Linked DNA regions of Homo sapiens: region 1 is linked to region 2. The links are contacts of gene promoters, found by promoter capture Hi-C in blood cells and fetal thymus (Javierre and others, 2016). All regions are on one chromosome and are shown on one strand. Each heading gives the region's core, a stretch centred on a gene start or on the middle of the fragment in contact. The rest is flanking DNA. Distances are from core to core; before and after follow the strand shown. Region 1 holds the start of NR3C2 (nuclear receptor subfamily 3 group C member 2). Region 2 holds the start of ZNF827 (zinc finger protein 827).

What was found. The method cuts DNA at HindIII sites, captures the fragments that hold promoters and counts their contacts. A CHiCAGO score of 5 or more calls a contact.
Region 1: a contact is called between a fragment that was not itself captured here and the fragment with the promoter of ZNF827 in region 2, in 1 of 17 cell types (total CD8 T cells). The highest score is 5.5, in total CD8 T cells.

What each region holds. Positions count from the first base shown.
Region 1 is chr4:148,440,190-148,445,674 of GRCh38, forward strand. NR3C2 (nuclear receptor subfamily 3 group C member 2) reads right to left here and starts at 2,225. Exons shown (of 9, transcript NM_000901.5): 1 at 1,971-2,225. RefSeq lists silencers at 2,133-2,422, 4,609-4,658, 5,419-5,485 and an enhancer at 4,359-4,448. The HindIII fragment of the contact is 1,777 bases long and covers 1,415-3,191 here.
Region 2 is chr4:145,936,247-145,941,850 of GRCh38, forward strand. ZNF827 (zinc finger protein 827) reads right to left here and starts at 2,577. Exons shown (of 15, transcript NM_001306215.2): 1 at 2,119-2,577. The coding sequence starts at 2,161. RefSeq lists silencers at 240-819, 920-1,329, 1,450-1,519 and an enhancer at 1,894-1,953. The HindIII fragment of the contact is 1,765 bases long and covers 2,319-4,083 here.

The sequences.
Region 1 (5,485 bases), core at 1,053-3,552, 2.5 Mb after region 2:
TTTTTTAAGATCAGATATTTTTCAAATAGCATTATTGAAATATTTTGAGTCTCCCTAGTATTTTAATTAGTCTTTTCTGTAAACAAATGGGTCCAGTTAGGAATTTATTTACTATGTCATCCAGGAAGCAGAGGTTATCTTTTTGCAACTGGCACAATGACCATGGCTTGAGCAGAATTTCAGTCAACCTGTACTAACTAGTGAATACTGAAAATACTAGTCGATGAATATGATCCTCATAGAACTTAATATCTAGAGGATAAAGAAAAAGTTTATGTTACTAAAGTATAAAATGAAGCAGATAGAGGTATACAAATCTAACTAACAAAAATCAGGCTTGCCTGCCTCACAATGGAAACCATACCAAAGATTCTCTTAGGACAAATGCAAAAAACATTATGAACTTTTAATTTTCATGCAAATGGGCCTCGCCCCAAAACACAAAAAAAAATTCACTAAAGGAAAAGCACTGGTGGAGGTGCTACTTTAAGCCATACATATGCTCTCAAACACAAAAGAAATGCTGTTTTCACAAAGGAAAACCTTAAAGTTTTACGTTTTACAGTCTGTGTTAAATTGCCCTTTTCCATAAAGAAGTACTTTTTTCGGGAATATTAACAAAGATCCTTGCGAATTTGTATTTTATCTGGAAACACTTTCACTTTTAGTAACCCCCAAAACCCAATCTCATCATGATGGAAATGATAGAAAAGGCATCTTTTTTATATTTATTTGACTATAAGATGGCACTTTAAAGACTAAAGCTTAAGAATCTCACAATCATCTATAGACTGCATAGTTGTAAAAGTTCACTATATGTAACTATTTTTTGTCATTCCCCACTACATAACTATTATGTTCCTCTCTTTTATAGATGAGGTAAATGATAGAAATCTGCCCAAGGTCACCTGAGAGAGCGGGAGAACCAGTTAGAACTGAGCACACCTGATTTCTATTCACTCACCTAATTTACCGAGCCACCTGATCTTTCCAAAAATCGCCAAACAAAACTATGCCTCCCTTAAAGGAAAAAGCTCCACTTTAAATTATTTTTTAAAACTTCTCCTCTCAAGCTTTTCCATGATAGCTGCCACGATGTCAAACATAAAATTTAAACTTCACAGCAGGACTTCACAGATGGAGAATGCTGTTATCATTACTATGTAAATATCATCAATAACAGCACCTAGAGAAATGGCAATACAAAATGTTAGGAAGCAATTTGGTGCCTTTAAAATTCGGCGGTTTCAAAAGCTCGTCTGCTATCAAAAGTTTTCCTAACTCCTATGTCATAATAAATAATTAAAACTGATGGTGCCATAAACCATTATTATTTAAACCTGGTCTTTTTAAATTGAGTAGGCAAAGCCACGCACCTAAAATTCAGTAGCAGAGTAAGGATGCCACCAAAAGAAGCTTCGTCCCCTTCTCCCTTGCCCTTAAAATTCCAACTGATGCCATAGGAAGCGTAGCCTGTCTCAAGAGTTTCGCGAATGCTAGCGAACGGGAAATGCACGAATTTCCAGAGCCCCTTTTATACAGGATCTATTAGGATCTATATCTCCTTCAACTGCCCTTATGCGCTACACCTCCGGCTGAGATTTGGGAGCGTCCGCAATTGATAAAGGAAAGAAATATTATTCAAACGTCCTTTAAAAATTGTACAGGGAAAATGATCCGAAATTCATCTTTGGGTAAAGGGAAGGGTGGTAGACCTCCCACTGCCAAAGGCAGTTAAAAGCTGCTAGTTAGAGGGCATTTATCCAAAGTGGCCAAACTTTCCCAAAATAGTCCTCTGGCGGCCAAAGGGGGAGAAAAGTGGAAAACCAAAACAAAACAACAAGCACACAGCACCATACTGACTGTGCCTCCGGATTACGCAGCCACTTCTCCCTGCAAAGTGCACGCTCCCGCGCCGCGGCCGCACGCCGAGCACGGCAAGCGGTGCCCCGCCGCGCGCCCCTACACACCTGCCTCGGCCGGGGTCCGTCTCTCGCCGTCTACCTGTTGCAGCGCTTGCCACCGCCACGAAACCCCTGCTGCGGAGCCCCCCTAAATCCAACCACATCCAGGCCAGCGAGTGCCGCTCTCCCTGCAGCGGGAGAGCCCGAGGCAGCAACGCTCTTGCACCCAGGTGACTGACTGCACGGGCTTCCTCTGAGCAGCCTGAAGTTGGCTCCCGTCTCCCGGGCCCAATGACACCCCGGGCGCGGAGGGGCTGAGAGGAGGGGGCAGGGGCAGGGGCAGGGCCAGGGCGGGCAAAAAAGGGAGGGAGAGAGGGCGGGCGAAAGCCCGGAGGGGGAGTGGGCCAGCTGGAGGGCTGGCCCTTTTAAAAGCGGGTCACATGTCCAGATAAAGTTCAGGTTGCTATCCCGCCCCCCTGAACCCTTCCTATTGGCCCGAAGAGAAGCAAGGCTCCACGCCGCACGGGTCAGGCGGGCTTCTTATTGGACAATCCAGGCTGTCAGTCACCAGGCGGGCGACATGACTGATACAAAGTTGCTGCGACACAGCCTGGACTCGGCAGCTTCCTTAAAGCCGCAGCCGCGGCGGGAGCTTGGGGTGCCGGGCGGTGGCTACATCAGGCGGCCTCCGCACGCTGCCCCCACCCCCATCGCTCGGCCGCCCCAAACTTGCTTACGTCCACCCTGCTCTCCTTCTGACCGACCCCAGGATATCTGGAGAGATGTGAAAAGTGTGCTGACGCGGAAGAAGTCGGTTTTTCCGCGAGCAAAGTGTCGTCCCCTCACGCTCTCCACCTGCAGCTCCAGGTGAGCTGCAGCCCAGACCCTGGCGCCGCCCAACAGCGTCCGCGCGCGGGGAGGACTCTGGGTGGGCTTCACCCGACCCTCGAGGTTCCTCTCCCAGCCCCTTTCCACTGTCTCCAGAGTTACCTCTCAGCAGAGCAGCAGCAGCCTTCGCTGCCAGCGAGCAAGACGATCACGTTCACTCGATTTGAATTTAGTTGTTTTAACCGTGCTGGAAAAACCCTTTAAACACAGCTTTCCTCCCATCCCTTAGACCCCTAACACCAAAAAAAAAAAAAAAAAAAAAAAAAAAAAAAAGAGAGAGAGAGAAAGATAAATGAAAGAAGTGGCAGGGTCAAGAGCTGCTCCTCTACTTCCTTATAATTTTGTCACTGTACTTACTACTTTAGTATTGGATTTTTCCACTAGTTCAATTTGAAAGCAAGCTTACCATCGAGGATATTCACGTTATAATGGGTGGAGGGGGTGGGTCACATAAGTGGGAGAAACAGACAGGAGGGGGGAAGGAACCAAACTGTTTTCTAAGGATCGGTTGTCTGCATGAAGAAATTTCGGTTTCCCTCCAACCGCCCCCTCCTCGATTCTCCTCCCGCCCACCCAAATGCTGCAGTTACTAAGCAAAAGGATGGGGTTCCTAACTTTGATTTCTAAGGACTTTTAGGCTTCTCATGTAAGGCCCCGTTTTAGGCTCCCCGCTGGCCCGGAGTCAGCATCAGTGACGTATACACCTAAATCTGGTCCCCCGGCCCTCGGCGACCCGCAGCCCGGCGGCGGCAGCTGTGCGGCCTCCCGCCTCACCCTCGCTTCGCGCCCGCCAAAGCCCGAGGCGGGGGACCGGGGGACACCCTGTGCCCAAAGGCCCCTCCTCTCCTTAACAGTTAGTTAAGCTCCGGGATTCCGGACCCCTAACCCAGGGCTGAGACTTGAACTCTCAGCCGCTCCAGTCAGGAACTCCCTGGAGATAGGGGCGACAGCGGCAGCGCCGCGAGCTGGTCCTGACCCCAGACTCTAATGCCCCTCGGTCCCCAGCTTGGAGCTGCCCCCGGCGTCCCCGCAGCCAGGAGTCCCCGCCGAGCGTCCCAACTTTCCCGCGGGGCCCACCGTCACGCGCACTCTCCCGGCCCAGCGAACTGGGCATCGATCTCACGTCGGCAGAGCGCGGGCGGCGGGCGGGAGCAAGGGGAGTCCCGGACCTAGAGCCTGGGCACGCGAGGCGGCGGCGGCTCCGCAAGCGTTGCCGAATTATTCATTATTAAAGGAATGGACGTGTCTCTTTTACTAAGTTTTTATCTCCTTTGAGGAGGGCCGGTCTTGCCCTGGATCTCAGCTTCTTGCAAAATCTAGGTTAGAACCGTGCAGGGGCAGCCGCCGCGATCACTCGCCCGCCACCCAGCACCCTTGCCCCAGGGCCGCCAGCGGGCAACTCGTCTCCTGCCCGCATCCCACCTCCGCTCGCCAACCCGCGCCCTCTGCCCTGGGCGCGCAACCTGCCTTGCCCGGGGCCGCCCCTGCGCTCTCCGGACCCCCTCTCGCCGCTGTCAGCGCAAAGTGACTGTCGCTGCACTCACCTTTTCTAGGACATGGTGGGGAGGCTGGGGCGGGGGAAGGGGAACGGCTAGACTCCCGCCGCCGCTGCTGCCGCCGCCACCAGCAAGTCCAATATTGGCTGATCGGCGGTGAGGATGGAGAGGATGATAATCCCGGCAGTGGCAGTCGCCCTGCTGACGGTGGGTAGAGCAATAGTGCTGTTACCCTACAAGAGGCGGCGAGGCAGCGGCGCCAAATCGCGCAGAGGGGGACGCGGGCACCCGCCCGCCCCCAGCGGCGGCGGCCGGGCCTCTGGCGGGCCCCTCTCCCGGGGCTGCGCGTCCGCTCGGCGTTGACAGCGGCGTCCCTGGGAGCCGGGAAGTCCGGCAGGAGGATCCCGCGCCCGCCGCTCCGCAGCGCCACTCTCCGCGCCCCCTCCCCGGGCCCTGGGTGGCCGGTGACAGCTCCGGCGGCCGAGCGCGTGTGTGAGGGGGCGGTCGCAGGGGGAGCCTGCGCCCCCCTCCCCGGGTCACGCCCTCACGAGCGGGAGGAGGCGGCACCGCGTCCGGCCACCCGCGGGTGGGAAACGGGCAGGGGCGCCGGCAGCCGCCCTCCCACTACGGCCACTGACAACCTGGAGGCCAAAGGAAAACTGAGCCCAAATGCACGCACCCCCTTCAGCCCTGCCCGCAGCCCTCCAAAGTCCGGCCCTGACCTCGCGCCCGGCTTCAGGTGCAGTTCCCACCTGCGGGGGGAGGCGAGGGCTGGGGACCTCGCGCGGGGGGCGGGAGGGAAAAGTTTTCTTTTCCTGCTCCTCGGCTGCCCACCCCGCCAGGCTGCTCCTCTCCCCGCCCCTCTCGGGCTCGCCGCGCCTCTGCCCCACCCCCGCCGTGGGGGGGCGCCGAGGAGGGAGCGGGCGTCTGTGCGCGGAGGCGTGCGGGGAGCTGGCTGGGGCGCTGCGGTCGCGACCGGTCCCCTCGCTCTGACGGCGGCTCAGACGCCCGCGGAGGCGGCTCGGCGGGGCAAGCCGAGGAAGGGGCCGAGAGCCGGGACCCCTCCTCCTCCGCTCGCGGCGCGCCGCGCGCCCCCGCGTCTCCTGGCGCGCCCCCGCGCCCTCGTGCCCGCTCGGGCAGACACCTACGCAGACGCGAAAGTGAAAGGGGGGCGACTGGGCCCGGCAGGCGGGCGGC
Region 2 (5,604 bases), core at 1,327-3,826:
TGCTGCGAGTTTTCTGTGAATCGCAGCGCGGAGCCTCCCAACTCGCCCTCCCCGACTCCACCGCCTTCTCCTTCCTCGCACAAAATTTCCCTACACACGCAGCCGCCTGCGAGTGATTTTATGTGCATATATATTACATATGTGATATTATCCTCAGAACCTCTAGCGGGCAGGCGAAGAAAGGACTGCACAGGGGCATTTTTTTTTTTTAAAGGAAGGGGAAAAAAGCACAACCCAAGCCCTTTGCGTCGACTCCTGCGTACCGGGAAGGGGAAAGAAAGAGGAATGTTTGCGGAGCGGACTGCTTGCAAGTGCCCTTGCTCGCCACTTCGGCTGCGGCCCGGGTGACACGGAGGCGCGGGGGCGCCTGGCCCGAGCAGCCCGCGCCCCCCTCCCGGTCCCCTGGGCAGGCACCGCCGCGGTTATTTCGCGAGGGGGAGATCGATCGCCCTGCCTGTCTGCAGCGGAAAAGCACAAGCTCACACACAGCCCGAGCCCGAGACACCATAACCTTAACCCTTCCCCCACCCTCCGTGAACTTCAGGTGACCGACCACGTCGGCCTGACACCCGGGCGGGCGGGCGCTCCGGCTCCACTCCCGCCCCCAGCCCGGGTTTTGCAGGATCGGGCTCCGAGCAGCGCCAAACCGCCGGGAGAGGGGAGTAGTGTGGGGGGAGAGAAGAGAAATTGACCCTCCGTCTCCCCCGACCCCTCCCTCCGGCGCCTCCCGCGTCCCCTCCTCCCCGTCACCCCGCCCCACGCCTTCTCCCCTGCCCCCTCTTCCCTGCATTCAAGGAGCCGGGCGGCCCCGGGGGATATTTTTAGTTGCTTCTTTCTCCTTCACTTTTAGCTTTAGCAGCATCTCGAAACACTCAAAGCGGAGAAAGACTGGGGGGTTGGGGGGAGCTGGAGAGGGAGTGGGGGAAAAGTTAAGAGTCGCGCAAAGAAAAGCCGGAGGGAGGGCGGAGAGGGACCGGGGGCGCGGGTGGAGGAGGGGAAGGGGACCGGGCCGTGCCGGCGGGTGTGTGTCTCCAGTTGGCGTGTGTGGCTGCCGCCGGGGAGGGCTGTGATGCACTTTAGTCCTGGACTCTGCTCAGGCTCGCCAAGGAGGGGGTCTGAGAGCCCGAGTCTCGCCCGGCTCCGTCTGCTCCGACTGACCCCGCATTTTATTGCGGCCAGGAGCCCTGCTCCTCCCTCTCCTCCGCTCTGCAGGGACCTCGCGCGCCGCGAGCCGCCCTGCCTCCTGCCTTCGCCTCGGCGCAGCTCCCGCACCCCACATCCGCCCGCCGCTGCCCGGCCTCGCCCCCCGCCCGGCCGCCCCGCGCCCCGGCGCGCCCCCTCGCCTCGGCGCCGCGGGAGCAGCCGCCCGGCGGCGCGTGTGTACCCGTGTGTTTGTGTGCGGTGCCCCTACACCCTCCCCAGCCGCTCCCGCCTCGCCCGCCCCCGACTCCCCTCCTCCGCCGCCGCCTCCTCCACCTCCGCCTCCTCCTGCTCCAGCCGCCGCCGCCGCTGCCGCCGGCGGCTCGGGGGCCGACCAACCCCGGCGCAACCTTTAGCCAGGGACGGACCTCTCCCTGGATCCTGTACCCGGCGGCTGCTGCGCGCCCTCTCCCCGACACCCCCAAACGCCATGTCACGGCCCCCAGCCCTCCGCGCGCCCCGACCCCCGCACCCTCAGGCGCCGGAATCCACAAGGAATTTTTTTTTTTTTAAGATTCCAACCTCTCCCACCTCCCCCCACCAAACCCCCGATAAAACCCCCGGCATCCACACTACTCCCCTCCTCCCTTCTCTTGCCCCCTCCCCCCAGCAACCCAGAGTGAGGAGGGGGAAGGGGAGGGAAAGGGAAAAAAAAGCCCGATCTCAAGGAAAAAAAGGGGGGGGGTGAGAGAAAGAAAGAAAAAGAGAGAGAGAATAGAAAGGGCACGGGGCTGATCATCACCAACATGGCTGCCTCAGCATAGACCTAAACGAGGAGTAACCCGGGCTGTGTCTTTGTCAGTTTCACCTCTGTAACCCTAAACTAATGCAGAAAACAACGGAGGAGGCTGCGGAGGGGAAAGAGGAGAGGGAGGGCGAGAAAATGGCACGAGAGGAGGTGGAGAAGGGATGACTTACGTGAGGGAAGGCGCTTGGGCTGCTCCTGCTTCCTCCTGGGCATTTTCCCCCTTTTCTCACATTCTCCTCCTTGGTTAATGTGAGATCAAATAAACCCCCGTGGGGGCAGAGAGGCAGACACTGGCAGGAGCGGGGAGGTAGTTGGGGGGCGGGCGGGCGGGCAGGGGGAAACCCCTTCTCCGGTGTGTGCAATGGGTTGAAGCTTGTTTCCTGGAGCCAGAAGAGGGGTTTTCTTCTTTTCTTTCCTTTCTTTTTTCCTTTTTTTTTTTTTTTTAAATTTTTGGTCGTGCACCTGGCTTGTCCCCGAGCGTAATATTCTTCAATGGAAACGGATCTAATAGGTGTGAGTGTGTGTGTGTCCTATGCTCGCGTGTGTGATGGGAGGTATAAATAAATGAGTGCCGGTGCGGCGGTGTCTATGGCCGCGCTCTGTGTCTCCGAGCCCCTAACACTAATGTCGGGATCAAAGGGCAGCGGCGGCGGCAGCACAGCTCACAGCTCGCTCTCTTGCTCTCTCTCTCTCTCTTTCTCGCTCTCTCTCCTCTCGCGCTCTCTCTCTCGCTCTCTCTCTGTCACACACACACACACACAAGAGGCACAGACTGAGGGAAAGAGCGAGAGCTACACACACACACACGCACGCACACACACACACAGAGCAAAGAGGAAAGTGCCCCAAGGCTCCCAGGGCGGACTCAGCCTCGGATTTACAACCGCTCTGTCTGGAAAGAATGGGGGGCGCGCGTGCGGGGGTGGGATGGAGTTCTTCAAATTTATCCCGCTAGTCACCAAATCTAGGGGGAAAAAGTTTTTCTCACTCTTTAAACAACGATTAGTTCATTATTTTACTGACTTTTAAAAAGGAAATAAATTTCTCTCTTCACTTTCTTTTGTTTATTAAGCTACATTTTGTTCTGTATGAAATTCTGCAGGCTTTTGTCCCTACCCCATCACCTTAAATCTGGAGGTTATCGTCTCCCACACACTCTTCAAAAACATTCCAAAAAAACTAATTTAAAAAAAATGAAGACAACATATGGTGAAATCAATAACTTGGTTGACAGTTGACAGAATAAGTGCCCAGTTTTGGAGTGTCCACTGGAGTTAAAACTGAAAAATGCTCCTAAATGAACATTACAGCTACTTGACAAAGAGAGGAAAATAAGATTAGGTCACCCCTGATGGTTGCTTTAACTGCTACGTGATACTCCTAGAGTGCACACAGCAATCTTTACTTCGGAAATTCACTTTTTCCCCTGCTATATACTGCAGGTATATGAAGTTTACCCTGAAGCAATTCCAGTGTGCATTATGAGCCCAATATAGCAGTTTTCATTAACTGATACATACTTTCATTACCTTACAAATCACACATCTTTCTTCAAAGAGAGACATAAAGGAGAAAAATAGAAAAGGACGGGTCTCACTAGAGCACAAAAGGTACTTGGTGAAAGAGGACTGTTCTCTTTGTGACTTGCAGTCATTTGGATAAAAGTTCACTCAGAGGTTGTTAATGATTTAAACTCCAAAACCTGCTACTATAATTGAAATAAAAATGGTCTGAAGAAGAGTTGTTTCATAAAACTCTCTTTGTAAGAGGAAACTTTGAACTTAGCAGAATACATTATATGTCATGAGTCATGTAGCTAGAAAATAAAAAGGTGCATTATTTAACTACATCTTCCCTTTTTAGCTTTTTTAAAACTCTGACTCATCATCTTATTATGTTAAATATTTTCCTACCAATTTTTAAATAGACCTTTTCATCAAAGAAAGTGGAGGCACAGTAAAGACATAGAACATTAAAATGACACTCTATAAGCCTACATGGATAACTCATGCCTCTTTGAGGTTGAGTTAATTCTTACAACTTCAGTGGTGTTAAAGAGAGCCATGGGGGTTAAATTCTGACTTGCCTTATTAAAAATAATAATAAGGCTTTATATTGCACACTTTTATAAGTGAAGCTTAAAGAGTGCTGTATCTCCCAAAAGATGTCTTTCACTGATAGAGAAATCTCACGTTCAACCCCTCCCTGCCAACTCCCCCCAAAAGATCTAGCTTCCCAGTAACAAGTAATGCTATTGAAAGCGAGGTTTGAAACACCTGCATGAATTCAATCTAAAACCAAAACAGAGAGCAGTCAAGTTTAAAATGGAGCACCCTGTAATCCCAGCACTTTGGGAGGCGGAAGTGGGCAGATCACGAGGTCAAGAGATCGAGACCATCCTGGCCAACATGGTGAAATCCCGTCTCTACTAAAAATACAAAAATTAGCTGGATGTAGTGGCACACTCCTGTAGTCCCAGCTACTTGGGAGACTGAGGCAGGAGAATCGCTTGAACCTGGGAGGCGGAGGTTGCAGTGAGCCGAGATCGGGCCACTGCACTCCAGCCTGGCGACAGAGCGAGACTCCATCTCAAAAAAAAAAAAAAAAAAAAAAAAGGAGCATCATCCTTAAACCAGTTCTTCCTCAAATGTTGGTTTTAAAAAACTGGTAGTTAGGTTGCCCTGCATTATAATTTGAAATATAACTATCTTTCCACTCAGGTCAAATTCAATTTGCCATAATTTTGACTATTGTCGGTGACATTGGACTTGAAATTAATATATTAATGATAAATTAGAGCCCATCCTTTCCAAGTAGACCAATGCTCTGAGTGTGTAGAATCTTTACAGCTGAACAAAATGGTCACCACACTTCACCACTGCTCTCTCAGAACCTTTGGCTAGGGTGTTCAGGATTATGACTCTGCATAGACACACCACTACCTTTTCTGAATTGCTAGGACTCTTCCTAATGTTTAGTTTGCTATAATTGAAAACACACTTTAGGCCTTTCCTCAAAGCAGAGTACATTTCCTGCGACCTTTTAAAGGCATGCAGGAAAATGCTGTCAACTTTTAATTATATAGGTGTTCTATCAACAGCCAAAAGCATTTTTAAATTGAATTTATTCATACCTCCACCTCTTTCCAAAAATTATTTGAAATAGTACACAACAATAGAAAATGGAAATAAGGACAGAACAATTTCCGTTTCAATCTCAGGTTGGTACCTTTATGCTATAAAACACTCTTCAAGGTCATTTGCATCTCACCCTCAATCGCTGTATGCTCAGGGAACACAAACTAATTTTAATGTCAGACTAACAAAAACATTAGGAAAATAAATACTTGGGGGTTACGATAATGGATTTCAAAATCAAATGCATAAATAATTTTGGAAATGTATGCTTTTGGGATATATATACCCATGAACCATGAGCTTTGATTATTGTTGGCCATACTCATCAGATTGGAATATTCTATTTGATTCACCCCACCCATGGACTAAGCTTTAAAAAGCATATTTTATCTTAATAATTATAGTACTCTCTCCACCCCCATCTCCATTACCTCTCAAATGTGAAATTAAAATAGATTTTCTCAAAACTGTGCACTCTAAGAAGAAGTTTCATAAACACTCTCACAGAAGTGAAATCTA